Regions from separate parts of the Homo sapiens genome. Here all the other regions are linked to region 1. The links are contacts of gene promoters, found by promoter capture Hi-C in blood cells and fetal thymus (Javierre and others, 2016). All regions are on one chromosome and are shown on one strand. Each heading gives the region's core, a stretch centred on a gene start or on the middle of the fragment in contact. The rest is flanking DNA. Distances are from core to core; before and after follow the strand shown.

Region 1 (2,708 bases), core at 46-2,545:
TCCGGGAGGATCTGGTCGCCGGCAGCCGCGCCTCCCTCCACTTTGATAGCGGTGTCCACCGAGGGCTGCTCGCAGGAGGCGGAGGCCGGCTGCGGTGGCTGCTGGGGCGGCGGCGGCGAGGCTGCGGGCTGCGCCGAGGCGCCGGGGCGCTCGGGCTCGGCCGCCAGGCCTGGGGGCGTCCTGTCCTCGCCGGGGGACGCGTCGCCCTCGGCGATGAGCCGCCGCTCCTCCGCGGAGTCATGCAGGTGTCCGTGACTGCTGCCGCTCCCCGTGCCGCCGCTGCCGCCGCCCCGGCTGCCCAGCGAGGCCAGGCTCCCGCGGAAGCGCCTGCAGTCGCCGTTCGTGCTGGACTTGCCCGCGCCGCGGGCCGGCCCTTCGCTGTCCGCTGCCCCGAGGGCCGAGCTCCGGGACTCCGTGCCACCCGCGGCCGCCGAGGGGGAGGGCGAGGGCAGTGGCCGCAGCCGGATGCTCCTGCGGCTGGGGTCTTGGCGGCCCCCGGCCCCCTCCTCCTCGGCGTCCTCTTCCTCGTCCATGATCCACGCCTTGGCCCCCACCTGCTGCGGGAGGCTGTAGAGCCGCTTGCGCATGGACGGCGGCAGCTTGTCCATGGCGCCAGGGGCCGGGGTCGGACCGGGCCGGGGGCAGGAGCGCGGCGCCGCGGACGGGCTCCAGGTCCGCCCGCCGGTCAGTCCGCCCGTGGGGACGCGTCCTTTGCCGCCGGCGTGGGGGCAGCCTCAGGCGCCCATGCTTGGGCAGGCTGCGCGCCGCGGGGAGGATCCTAGTCCCGCTCCGAGTCCCCGGGCTCGCCGCGCTACACCTCCTCCCGGGCCCGGCTGGGCGCGGGGACCCCGCGCTCCCTTCTTGCCTCCCTCCCTCCCTCTGGCGTTCAGGGGCGCGGCGCGCCGCCCGGCTCCAGGCGCCCCGCCCCCGCGGGGAACAATGGGCGCCGGCCGGAGAGGCTCTGCGGCCGCGGCGCTCAGGGAACCGCTCCGGAGTGCAGAGCGCACGGCCCGCGCGGGTCCCGGGCGTGCGTCCCGCGGGAGGGCTGGCTGTCCGTCTGTCTCGCCGCCCGGGCTTTGTGGCTGGCCACCCGCGAGCTCGCCTCGCCTCCTCTGCCCCGGCCCGTCCGGCCCGTCCCGGGGCTCCCGCCGCAACCGAGCGGAGCCCAGCGACCCGCCGGGCTTACATCAGCGGCCGCCTCCCCCGAAGCGCCCTCCGGCAGCGCTCGGGCTCCCGCGCCCCGGAATATTCATGAAGCCGCCGCAGCTCGCGGGTTGCCATAGGAGCGGCTCCAGCAGCCGGGCCTGCCTACCTGGGCTTCTTAAAGGGGCAGCGGCGCACGGGCCGGGGGCTGGAAAGGGGCGGGGGGCGGGCCTGGCAAGGGGCCCAGGTTAGACCCTCGCTAGACCTTCGGGGCCGGGGTGAGAGGTATCCACACTGCTGCGCCCTTAAATCTCTTTCCTGGGCTAAGCTGGGAGTGCGCCCCAAGTCTGAAGCTCCGGCTTCAGTTGCGAATTCCCCATCCTAAGATTGAAGGGTGGGGGGTGGCTTCCCAATTTCTCCATCACCAAGCTCTGGGCTCGCCTTTCCCTGGCATTTTTGCCCCTCAGCTGGGTCTCCGACTTTCCTCTTGGGAGGCGACCGGGTTCGTCTGGATGCAGAGTCCCGGCCTTCCCGCAACCCTCCTGGAGAGGGGGCTTCCGGAAATGCGCCGCGTCGGGGAGGCTCCCACGGTTTTCCTGTGACATGGGCAGGGTGCGAACCCCGCGCCAGTCTTTCCCCTGCAAAGCCTCGCAGCAGCCAGGCAAGGAGGGCGTGGGGAAACAGGGAGACACGCACAGGGCGCGCGGGTGGGACCCAGCCCTTCGAGGTAAGACTTCGAGGAAATGCGCCGGCAACAGTGACGGATGCGAGATCCGAACGCCGACCTCCGCACGCGCCTCTCCCTCGGTAGTTCCGAGAAAGGGACAAGCCGGCTGCAGCGGGGAGCGGTTGGGCCGGTTCCTCGGACGCCCCAGCACTCTGGAACTGGCTTTGGAGCCCCTTCTCCCTGTGTTCCCATCCACATTATGACACCTACTATGTGGACCCACGCTGGGTGAGTTCCTGTTCCACCCAGTCCCCTACCTGCACCCCCAAGCAGCTGCACAGCCCCCACTCCCTTCCAGTCTGCAGCCCAGCCCCCTTCCCCCCAACCCCCGCCAAGGATCCAACTGTGTGTCCTCTCTCCCAGTCTCTCCCAGTGTACAGTGTCCGGGCTTATGGACAGATTTCACTAGCTCAGCCTAAGGTATAGCCCTACCCCCTCCAACACCATGGACAGCCTGATACCCCAGATTAGCTCAGAAATGGATAGGGGGACAGATTGGGCATTAAGGGGAGGGGAGTTGTCCAGAGAAGGCTGGAGCCGAGGTTAATGCTGGAGCGGACACACAGCAAAGTCTCACAGGAGGGAGGCAAAAAGGTCCCCTGGCTCTGCCATCTCTCTGAGGAATAACATCAAGTTTTTCTTCAAATGATTTTTTTACTCTCATTCTTAGCCCAATGTGACCACTTTCGCCTCCTCCATCCAGAGTAGGAATTTGGAGAGCAGGATGCGGGGCGGGCAGCCTAGCAGGGGCTCTTCTGCTCTACCCACTGGACCACAGGACCTCCCACAGTGAGAGGAATGACTAGGGTGATGACATCACTGGTAGCTGGCATTTTTA
Region 2 (2,842 bases), core at 71-2,570, 400 kb after region 1:
TTGCCTGGATTCAGAGCTCCTTCCCCACCTTTCCAGGTATAGCATGAAGCTGTTTGGTGTGTATACAAAGCTGCAGGATTCACTCTTCCGGGGCACAGATGCCTGAGAAACTTCAGAGAGGCAGAAGGCGTGAGTCTGAGCAGCCATCATCTGGGCATCAAGGGGTTAACCCATCCCTGAGGGCTGGGCCAGGTCTTTTCCTCGGACTGGGCCCCGCCCTCCGGTTCCTCCATAGAAGCCACTGGAGTCAACTAGGAGCTCACTTTGTGGGAGGGAGAAACGTTTTTTTCTCTTATTTGAATGGTGCTGGTGACCTCACAAGGTTTCCATGGTGACAAGACCAAGGGAGCCAGGGGGCCTTGGTGAATTAGGCCAAACAAACCCACCTCCAAGAGTCTTCTCCCAGACTCCAGCCTTGAGGATGAGGACTCCAGGTAATCAGTGAGCTTGCTGAAGAGGGAAGGTTGGGGGCTGGGGACATGCCAGGCCAGGACCTGCAACAGAAACCGCCGCCCCACCTTTCCTTTCTGTGCCCCACCCCATCCTGCCTAAAAAGTTGCTTTCCATGAGGGCTTGGTGCTGAGTGTGGCCCCCACAGGGATGTCTGTGTGGTCACAGAGTACCTGTGGGAGGGCAATTCTGACCCCAAGGTAGGAAGCAGTGATCCGGTAATTCCAGGCACCAAGGCAGATAAAAAGACCAAGGTAGGTGAACAGCAGAGTAGAGGCCTGGGTGTGAAAGGAGAAAGCCATGAGCATCTGGTTGGGAGTGGGAGCCCTGCTCTCTGAAGCTTGACTTTCTCAGGAGCAGCTGGGGGCTGGAGCTTGGGAACACAGGATCATGGGATCCAAGTGACCAGGGTTTGAAACCAGGCATAAATAATGCCTGCACTCTATGGTTGTGGCCTACATGGGACATCACAGGGAAAGCACCGAGTAGGTGCTCAATATGTGTTTGTTTCCTCCCTCCTTCCCTTCCTCTCCTCTCCACCACTCAACAGCCACAGCCTCCTCAAGAAGTTTGAAGTCTGCATTGAACTCATTAATTTCCAGCTTTTGGCCGGGCGTGGTGGCTCATGACTATAATTCCAGCACTTTAGGAGGCCAAGGTGGGCGGATCACCTGAGGTCAGGAGTTTGTGACCAGCCTCACCTACATGGTAAAGCCTCGTCTCTATAAAAATACAAAAATTAGGCGGGCATGGTGGTGGCCACCTGTTATCCCAGATTCTTGGGAGGCTGAGGCATGAGAATTGCTTGAACTTGGGAGGTGGATGTTGCAGTGAGTGGAGAACATGCCACTGTGCTCCAGCCAGGGCAACAGAGCGAGACTCCGTCTCAAAAAGAAAAAAAAATTCCAGCTTTCAATTATTTGATCCTCACATAATTCAATGTCTAAAATATTGTACTCCTACATATTGTCCTAAAATTCTACCATGGAAGCTCCAACCATTGCTTTGCATGAAATCTCCTTGTAAATGGCAACATCTTATCTGGAAGTAATTGTCTTTTCCCTGGACAGGGGCAGTTGTATGAGTGGGTGGGGAGCAAATGGGGTGGGGTGGGGTGGGAGGGTAGACGGGGGGAATGAGTGATGTCTTGTTTGTTTGATTTTTGTTTTTTCTTTTTCTTTTTCTTTCTTCTCTTCTCTTCTCTCCTTTCCTCTTCTCTCCTCTCCTCTCCTCCTCTCTTCTCTTCTTCTCTTTTCTTCTCATGCAGATGGGGCCCATGAGTGAGGAGGACAAGAGAGAAAGGAGAAGTTTGGGTGTAAATCCCAGAGATTGTTCATCATGTGAGAGGAGCCGTGCATGCATTTCATGCCATACTCACACCATGGATGGAGAAAAAAAATCAAGCTTCACTTTCTGAGAATGGCCCTGGGGGCACTGCATCTAGTGCCTGTGCATCTGCAGACCTGCCGGATGCCTCCAGGGGAATCATGCCACCCCAAGCAAGAAAGGGCCCAGTTGCCAGGAGCCTGGAGGCAGAGAGCTGAGGAGCCAGCCCCTGACATCAGAATGGAGCTCAAAGGTTGGCTGGGTGTGACTCTGCCGTGGACAGCTTCTCTTGGGAAATCTACTTTAATGAATCCAGGGGACCAATTTGTAATCAGCCCATCAGATGTTCAGCGACACTTAGCTGGAATCTCGTTGCTGGACTCTGTGCCCCGCAGTGGATGACAGTTCTCCATCAGGGTCTGCAGTCCTCTACCCTGGACTTGCTGCATCCTGGAGCCCCCAGCAGTCAGGTACCGGCTCTCAGAACTGCCTGCATCCCATTGGCCTGAGCTGCTGTCTGCCAGGGCTGCTGGTAACCAGGCCCACAGGGTTGGATATTCCCCCAACAGGGCAGCTCCCAGTCCAAGCCCAACTGTTACCAGCCCAGAAAGATGTTTCAGGATACCCCTTTCCTCCCCACTTCCCTGCCCTCTGCAGCTCCAGCTGGTGCACCCCATCTTTCTCTCCCCCTCCCTGCTAGGCTGGGCCCTAACAGGAGACCTTTGAGGTGGTTGGGCTTGTTCTGCAACCTTGAGTACCCTTGAGCTACTGCCTCACTCCTCAGTTTTCTTCTTCTTAAGGTTTCTAATTGGACTTTGCCAGTGTATTTATTTCAAAACTGGTCATCTTACTGACCTCGCTCATAGTCTCTTATTACTTTTCTAGTTGATTCTCTTGAGTTTTCTGGATAAACAATAATATCATGTACAAATAATGATGACAATTTCTCCTCCTTTCCAAATGTTGTGTTTCCTTTTGTGTATTAATGTACTCTTGCCTTGGCTAAAACTTCCAAAACAATGTAAAATAATTGTGTTAATAGCAGGCTTTCTCATTCTACCCTGAC
Region 3 (2,797 bases), core at 50-2,549, 460 kb after region 1:
GACTGGTATAAATATTGCTTCTTTTCTTCTCCCCCATCCTGACTTCCTCCTTCTCCAAACCTTAGGGATACCATGTCCAGGGGCAGCTTCCTCCCACAGACCAGGGAGGCAGGGAGGTGCAGGGCAGCATTCCATCTGCCTTCTTCCCCTCTGTGAGTCCCACCTACCTCACCTGCCCCCAAATCCCAATCCTCAGAAGTGTCCACAGCACAGCTGCTGTCAGATCAAAACCTCTGCTGGACAGCTCCGCTGAGGCCCTTGTTGGGGAACTGGAGCTGTCATGGCTATGTCTGCCACAGGTCCCAATCCACAGCTGGTAGGAGCTGCAAAGTCCAGCCAGCCAGGACTGGTTTTTTATTTTTCTAATGAAAAATAAAAACAGACACCTTTGCAGGGAAGAAGACCAACCTTACTCTTAGAGCCAGGGCATTATGCCACAAAGTGGCCTTGTGCAACCCCAGGGCTTGGCTGTGTGACTGGAAGAGTCAGCCCTGACGGAAGCTTCCTTGCTATGCTTTCAGCTTACCTCCACTCTTCATCTTACCCAAGCACAGCTATGACCATGCCCCTCTCCGGTCAAAAGCCTTCAGAGGCCTTCAGACATCTGCTGGGTGAAATCTGAATGGGCTTCTTGGCATCAAAGGGCTGCCATACTCTGGTTCTAAGCCATCTTCACTCCTATCACAGATTACAGCCACACCTAGAAACCCACTCTTTCCCATACTTGCCCCTTGCTGCCAATCCTCAGGACCTTTGCACAACATTTGTTCTGTGTGGAGCACTCCACACTTCCCCATCTCCACCTGTAGAAACTCACTCTTTCCCTGGGGGACCTGGGATTCAAGGAGGACCATGGCCATGGGGGTCTGACACCACATCTGCCAATGCTCTCCTCTCTAATTTTCTCTCTCCTGTCTCCCTGTGCCCTCATTCCCTCCGCCACTCCTTTGGCTTCATTTTCCTGGATTCCATGAACACAATTGAATTATAGTCATTAGGTTGGAAGGGACGCGAGAGCTCCATGTTCTCTCACCTCCACCTAGATCAGTGATTCTCAAACTTTGGGAGAAATCAAATCAGCTGGATAGCTTGTTGAAACATAGATTGCTGGACCCCACCCTCAGAATTTCTGATTTGAGCGGCCTAGAGTGGAGTCCAAGAATGTGTATTTCTAACAAGCTATCAGGTAATGCCAATGCTGTTGGTCCAAGGAGCACACTCTAGGAACTGCTGACCTGGGTTTGGGCTCAGAAATTAACCTTGTATCTCTGTTTCCCCCGAAACAAAGGGTCCAATGCCAGCACACTTACTCTCTTGGTTTGGTACCCACTGATGGTTGTTGTGGCTCTTTTATCTATCTATTTTTTTTTTTTTTTTTTGACAGAGTCTTGCTTTTCGCCCAGCCTGGAGTGCAGTGGTGCAATCTTGGCTCAGTGCAACCTCCGCCTCCTGGGCTCAATTGATCCTCCCATCTCAGCCTGCCATGTAGCTGGAACCACAGGCTGTGTGCCACCATGCCTGCCTAATTTTTGTATTTTTTGTAGAGACGGGGTTTCTCCATGTTGGCCAGTCTGGTCTCAAACTCCTGACCTCAAGTGATCTGCCCGCCTTGGCCTCCCAAAGTGCTGGGATTACAGGTATGAACCACTGCTCCCGGGTGGATGTGGTTCTTGATAGGAAGGTAGGGCTTCCAGGCACCTGCCACTCAGAGCCCTGGGGAAAGTCTTGGGTTTCATTATTACAATAAATTCACTGACAAGAACACAAAATTCTTTGCAGGGAAAATAATCATAGTGATTCATAAAGAAACATACTGTAACAACATCAAGAGTGGTAATAATAGTAATAACATGATTGTAATATAATGTCATCTTCCCTAATGTGCTAAATCCAGATTGGTCTGAGCAATATAAAAGAATTACTGACATACACAAATGCTCAGAAAGTCTAGCTCAGACGTATTTGGGGCTATTTAGGTGATGGCAATGGTGATGATGACTGTAATAACAAACCACATTTGTACACAGCTTTAGTGTTTCTAAAGCACTTTTTACCAGTTTTATTTTAGCTGCCACTCTGGAAAGTAAGCGAGGTGGGTAAAGCTTCTTTGGTTCATACATGAGGCTCCCATGTGTTCCTCCTTTCAGGCCTCATTCAACAAACATGTGTTGTGTGCAGGTTAGGTACAGGACAGGGTCTGGGATAGGGTTGTAGACAAAATGCAAATTAAATATAAATTCAGGGTTGGGTGCAGTCACTCACGTGTATAATCCCAGCATTTTGGGAGGCCAAGGTGGGAGGAGGGTTGGAGTTCAAGATCAGCCTGGGCAACATAGCAAGACCCCCATCTCTACGAAGAGAAATTTTATTTTCATTGATTTTTAGTTTTTTCTGGCACTTAGTTCTGCTTCACACAAAGAAATTTTAAAAAATAAATAAACTCAATGCAGATTCAAATATCCATTAAAATGAAATTTGAATTTCAGAGAAACAACAAATCATTTTGTAGTATAACCATGTCAGAAATATTGCATGGGACATACTTAAACTAAAATTGTCTGTTGTTCTTCTGAAATTCACATTTAAGTGGGTGTGCTGTGTTTTTATTTGCTAAGTGTGTGGTACCCTACTGGGGAAGGAAGGAGGGGATAAAAAGAATAAGAAATGTTTCTTGCCCTCAGAACAATCTCACAGTCTGGTTGGACATCACAGAGCTCAAATGATTCCAACCCATGTAGTCAGTGGTCTGGTAGCAGCGTTTCTCAACACGATGCGCACAGGTGGCACCTGGGGATCT
Region 4 (2,828 bases), core at 98-2,597, 490 kb after region 1:
AATCACCCAGCAGAACCCAGACTAAATTTCTGACCCACAGGATAATAAGTTAAATGAATATTATGTTAAGCCACTGAATTTTGGGGACTTTGTTATACAACAACAGTGACTGAGGCCAAGGTGACCAGCCTTTTGAAGGGCAGGCTCATCCACAATGGTTCCCACGATGGGCTGGCCATCTGAACAGGACCATCACTCCTTCAGCATTTCCACTGCCCCCTCTGCCTCAGCCACCTTGGGCTCTACGAGACCTCACACATGTCCTGTGTCTTTACACAACCTGTTCCTTCCTCCTGGAAGACCCATCCTCATCTTGTCCTCTGAATCCTGTTCACTCTTTAAGACCAGCTCATACCCTGAAACCTTTGTAGGTTCACAGCCTCTCTGCCACCATCAATCTTTTGGGAATGAAGTAAGGTATAAGTGAGTAAAATCCCTCCCCTTCTGTCTCCTGTCTTCCTGTATCCCCCTTTGCTCTGCTGGTAGCTTTATTGCAGCACATCCCCTTTCATAGTTACCAACCCATGCCGTGGCTCCTGAACACTAAGTAGGGAGGAAGGCCCAACTGAGAGAGTGGCTCTCACGTAATCCTGGGTCTCCCCAAGCCTCAGCACTAGCCGGGTACCCAAAAGTATCCTGGGAGGGGGCAATGAATAAAGATGAACAAACTTTCCATCTACTGATTTTAGAACAATGAGACATGGTACTATGTAAAAAACCCACATTGAAATTCAAAGACCTGTTTTCAGTCCCTACCTTGCCCTGCAACATTTGCCAGGGGCTTGCCCCCCTCCGAGCCTCAGTTTCCCATCTGTATAATGAGGGGCTGTGCTGACTCATTTCCCACCCCCCCCGCCCCCCCCACCCCCGTCAGGGCTGAGCATCTGTGGAGTGTGCTCAGGTATCCGGTCCTCCGGTTGCCAGCTCTGGCCTGGTTCCTCACTGGCCTGGGTTGTGTGACAAAGCTTCCCACCTGCCAGCAGCCTGGCCAGTCCTTTGGATAGTGGTGGCTAATGAGCTGGCCTGGGTTCTTTTGACTGCCAGCATCTTCCACTTTCTGAACCTGCCAGTGGGATAAGGAGGCCTTGGTGTTGGGAGACATCTCTTCTGAAAGCTCTGCTGGTCAAGGCTGGGTCCCTGCCTGTCTGATTGGGGAGGCCTGGCCAGTCTTCAGGAAATTCACACACACACACACACACACACACACACACACACACATCATCCAAGGCTCTCTCCTGGAAGCTTCTGATGGGCTCCTAGGAAGGAATGCTGACTGGCTGTGTCTTCCTCCCTTGGCATCCCCTAGAGTCAGGTAAGAAGAGGACAGAGAAAGGGAAAATGGGCCAGTGCAAAATTAACCACACAGAGAAAGACTTTTCCACTCCAGCTCACTGAAAACCAGGATGAAAGATCTCAGAAGCTGGAATCCAGCCAGGTTCACACCTAGGGAGCAAAGCTTCCTGGGGTACAGTGCAGGAAGGGAGGCTAGATCTGAACTAGAGCTTCTCCTCCAGCCAGTATTATCACTGCTTACTCAAGGAGGTGGGAAAGCTCCAAAGATGCTCACCTCATGCATCTCCCTGGCATACCAGGAAGAAGCCTGGGGCAGAAGTCCATGGTGTCTCTGTGGCCCTAGGGTAGGGCTCTACTGCAGCCCTAGGGTAGAGAGCTAGGCCACTGGGGCTTCCAGATTGCACCCATCACAGACAGTGAGCGGCTGACGCGATGCCTCTCTGGCTCTACCTCCTCCCTCGTCTACCCCTCTTTCCAGCAGATAAACTTGAAGGAAGCAGGGAGAGGCTGTTTGTGGATGCAGAGTGGCTGCTCACTCACTGCTCTGTTCTCACACTATCTCCTCGAACCCCACCCCTGTGAATGCTAGAGGCAAAGACTAAGAGGCTGAAAGTCCGGAGCCTTGGCTTCTAGTCTGGGTGTTTTCCCTTGATATCTTTGTGACCTTGGAAGGTACAGTGCTTCTTTTGGACCCCTGGATATTTCTTCTGCAGGTAAGAGGTAATAACTCCCACTGTCAAATGGCCGCAGGATGGAAACCTTCTGAAACCATCAAGTTCTTTATACAGATGTTTTCATTATTGAGTCCAGAGAGGTGGTCCCCAATGTGCTTGAGGCCTCACTGTCCCCTCTTTGCTGGCCTCTTTGCAGCCTAGGCTTTGAGAAACATGGCCAGGACCTGGCCTCTCCTCCCCGCCTCATGTTCCCCGGCCAGCTGCCCCAGTGGTCCCTGCACAGGTTCAGCACCTGCTCTGAGCCCATCCTGGAGCAGGGCTGTCAGGGGAGGGACCTTCCCTCCAGCTCTCTTCCTGGGTACAGAACCACCCAGAGAAGAGCGACAGGCTAGAGCAGGACAGAGTGTGAGCAGGAGCTGTTGTGTGGAGAGTAGATGCTCAGAGAAGGGAGAGGGTGGCACAGAGGAGTAAAGTTCCTCTCCAATCTGTCTCCAAATGCTTGTATCTTCTACAGTCTATACTACCCATGGATTTCAGGTGGAGAGAAAGACATCTTTCTGACAGTGAGAGTTGCCTGGGAGTGGTGGAAGGAAGCATCCTGTCGATGAGGCTTTTTTGCTGAGTGTGTGGGGGCTTGTGCACACAGAAATACTATTTATAGCTACCTTTTAAAATTTAATAGGCAATTTATTAAGGATACACATATAAAAACATAGCTTTTTAGAAGGATTAAGCTCCACTTACCAATCTTATTGTTCTATGCATAAATGCAATAAAATAAGAACAAGACCTTCACTTTTTCTTCAATTAAAGTTTGATTAACTCAGGTTGAAAAAACTACTCCTTTAAACAATCAGTGCC

Evidence for each region. The method cuts DNA at HindIII sites, captures the fragments that hold promoters and counts their contacts. A CHiCAGO score of 5 or more calls a contact.
Region 2: a contact is called between a fragment that was not itself captured here and the fragment with the promoter of HCN4 in region 1, in 2 of 17 cell types (M1 macrophages and endothelial precursors). The highest score is 5.7, in M1 macrophages.
Region 3: a fragment that was not itself captured here is called in contact with the fragment with the promoter of HCN4 in region 1 in 1 of 17 cell types (M2 macrophages); the score reaches 5.9 in M2 macrophages.
Region 4: a fragment that was not itself captured here is called in contact with the fragment with the promoter of HCN4 in region 1 in 1 of 17 cell types (M2 macrophages); the score reaches 5.0 in M2 macrophages.

The regions. Positions count from the first base shown.
Region 1 is chr15:73,367,663-73,370,370 of GRCh38, forward strand. It overlaps HCN4 (hyperpolarization activated cyclic nucleotide gated potassium channel 4), which reads right to left and starts at 1,296. Exons shown (of 8, transcript NM_005477.3): 1 at 1-1,296. The coding sequence starts at 608. The HindIII fragment of the contact is 7,030 bases long and covers 1-2,708 here.
Region 2 is chr15:73,767,753-73,770,594 of GRCh38, forward strand. INSYN1-AS1 (INSYN1 antisense RNA 1) reads left to right here and starts at 334. Exons shown (of 3, transcript NR_120353.1): 1 at 334-434; 2 at 1,001-1,108; 3 at 1,718-2,050. The HindIII fragment of the contact is 1,064 bases long and covers 789-1,852 here.
Region 3 is chr15:73,832,619-73,835,415 of GRCh38, forward strand. No RefSeq gene overlaps it. Among named protein-coding and RNA genes, the nearest start is that of TBC1D21, 40 kb to the right of the region's middle. The HindIII fragment of the contact is 1,601 bases long and covers 500-2,100 here.
Region 4 is chr15:73,858,430-73,861,257 of GRCh38, forward strand. No RefSeq gene overlaps it. Among named protein-coding and RNA genes, the nearest start is that of TBC1D21, 14 kb to the right of the region's middle. The HindIII fragment of the contact is 214 bases long and covers 1,241-1,454 here.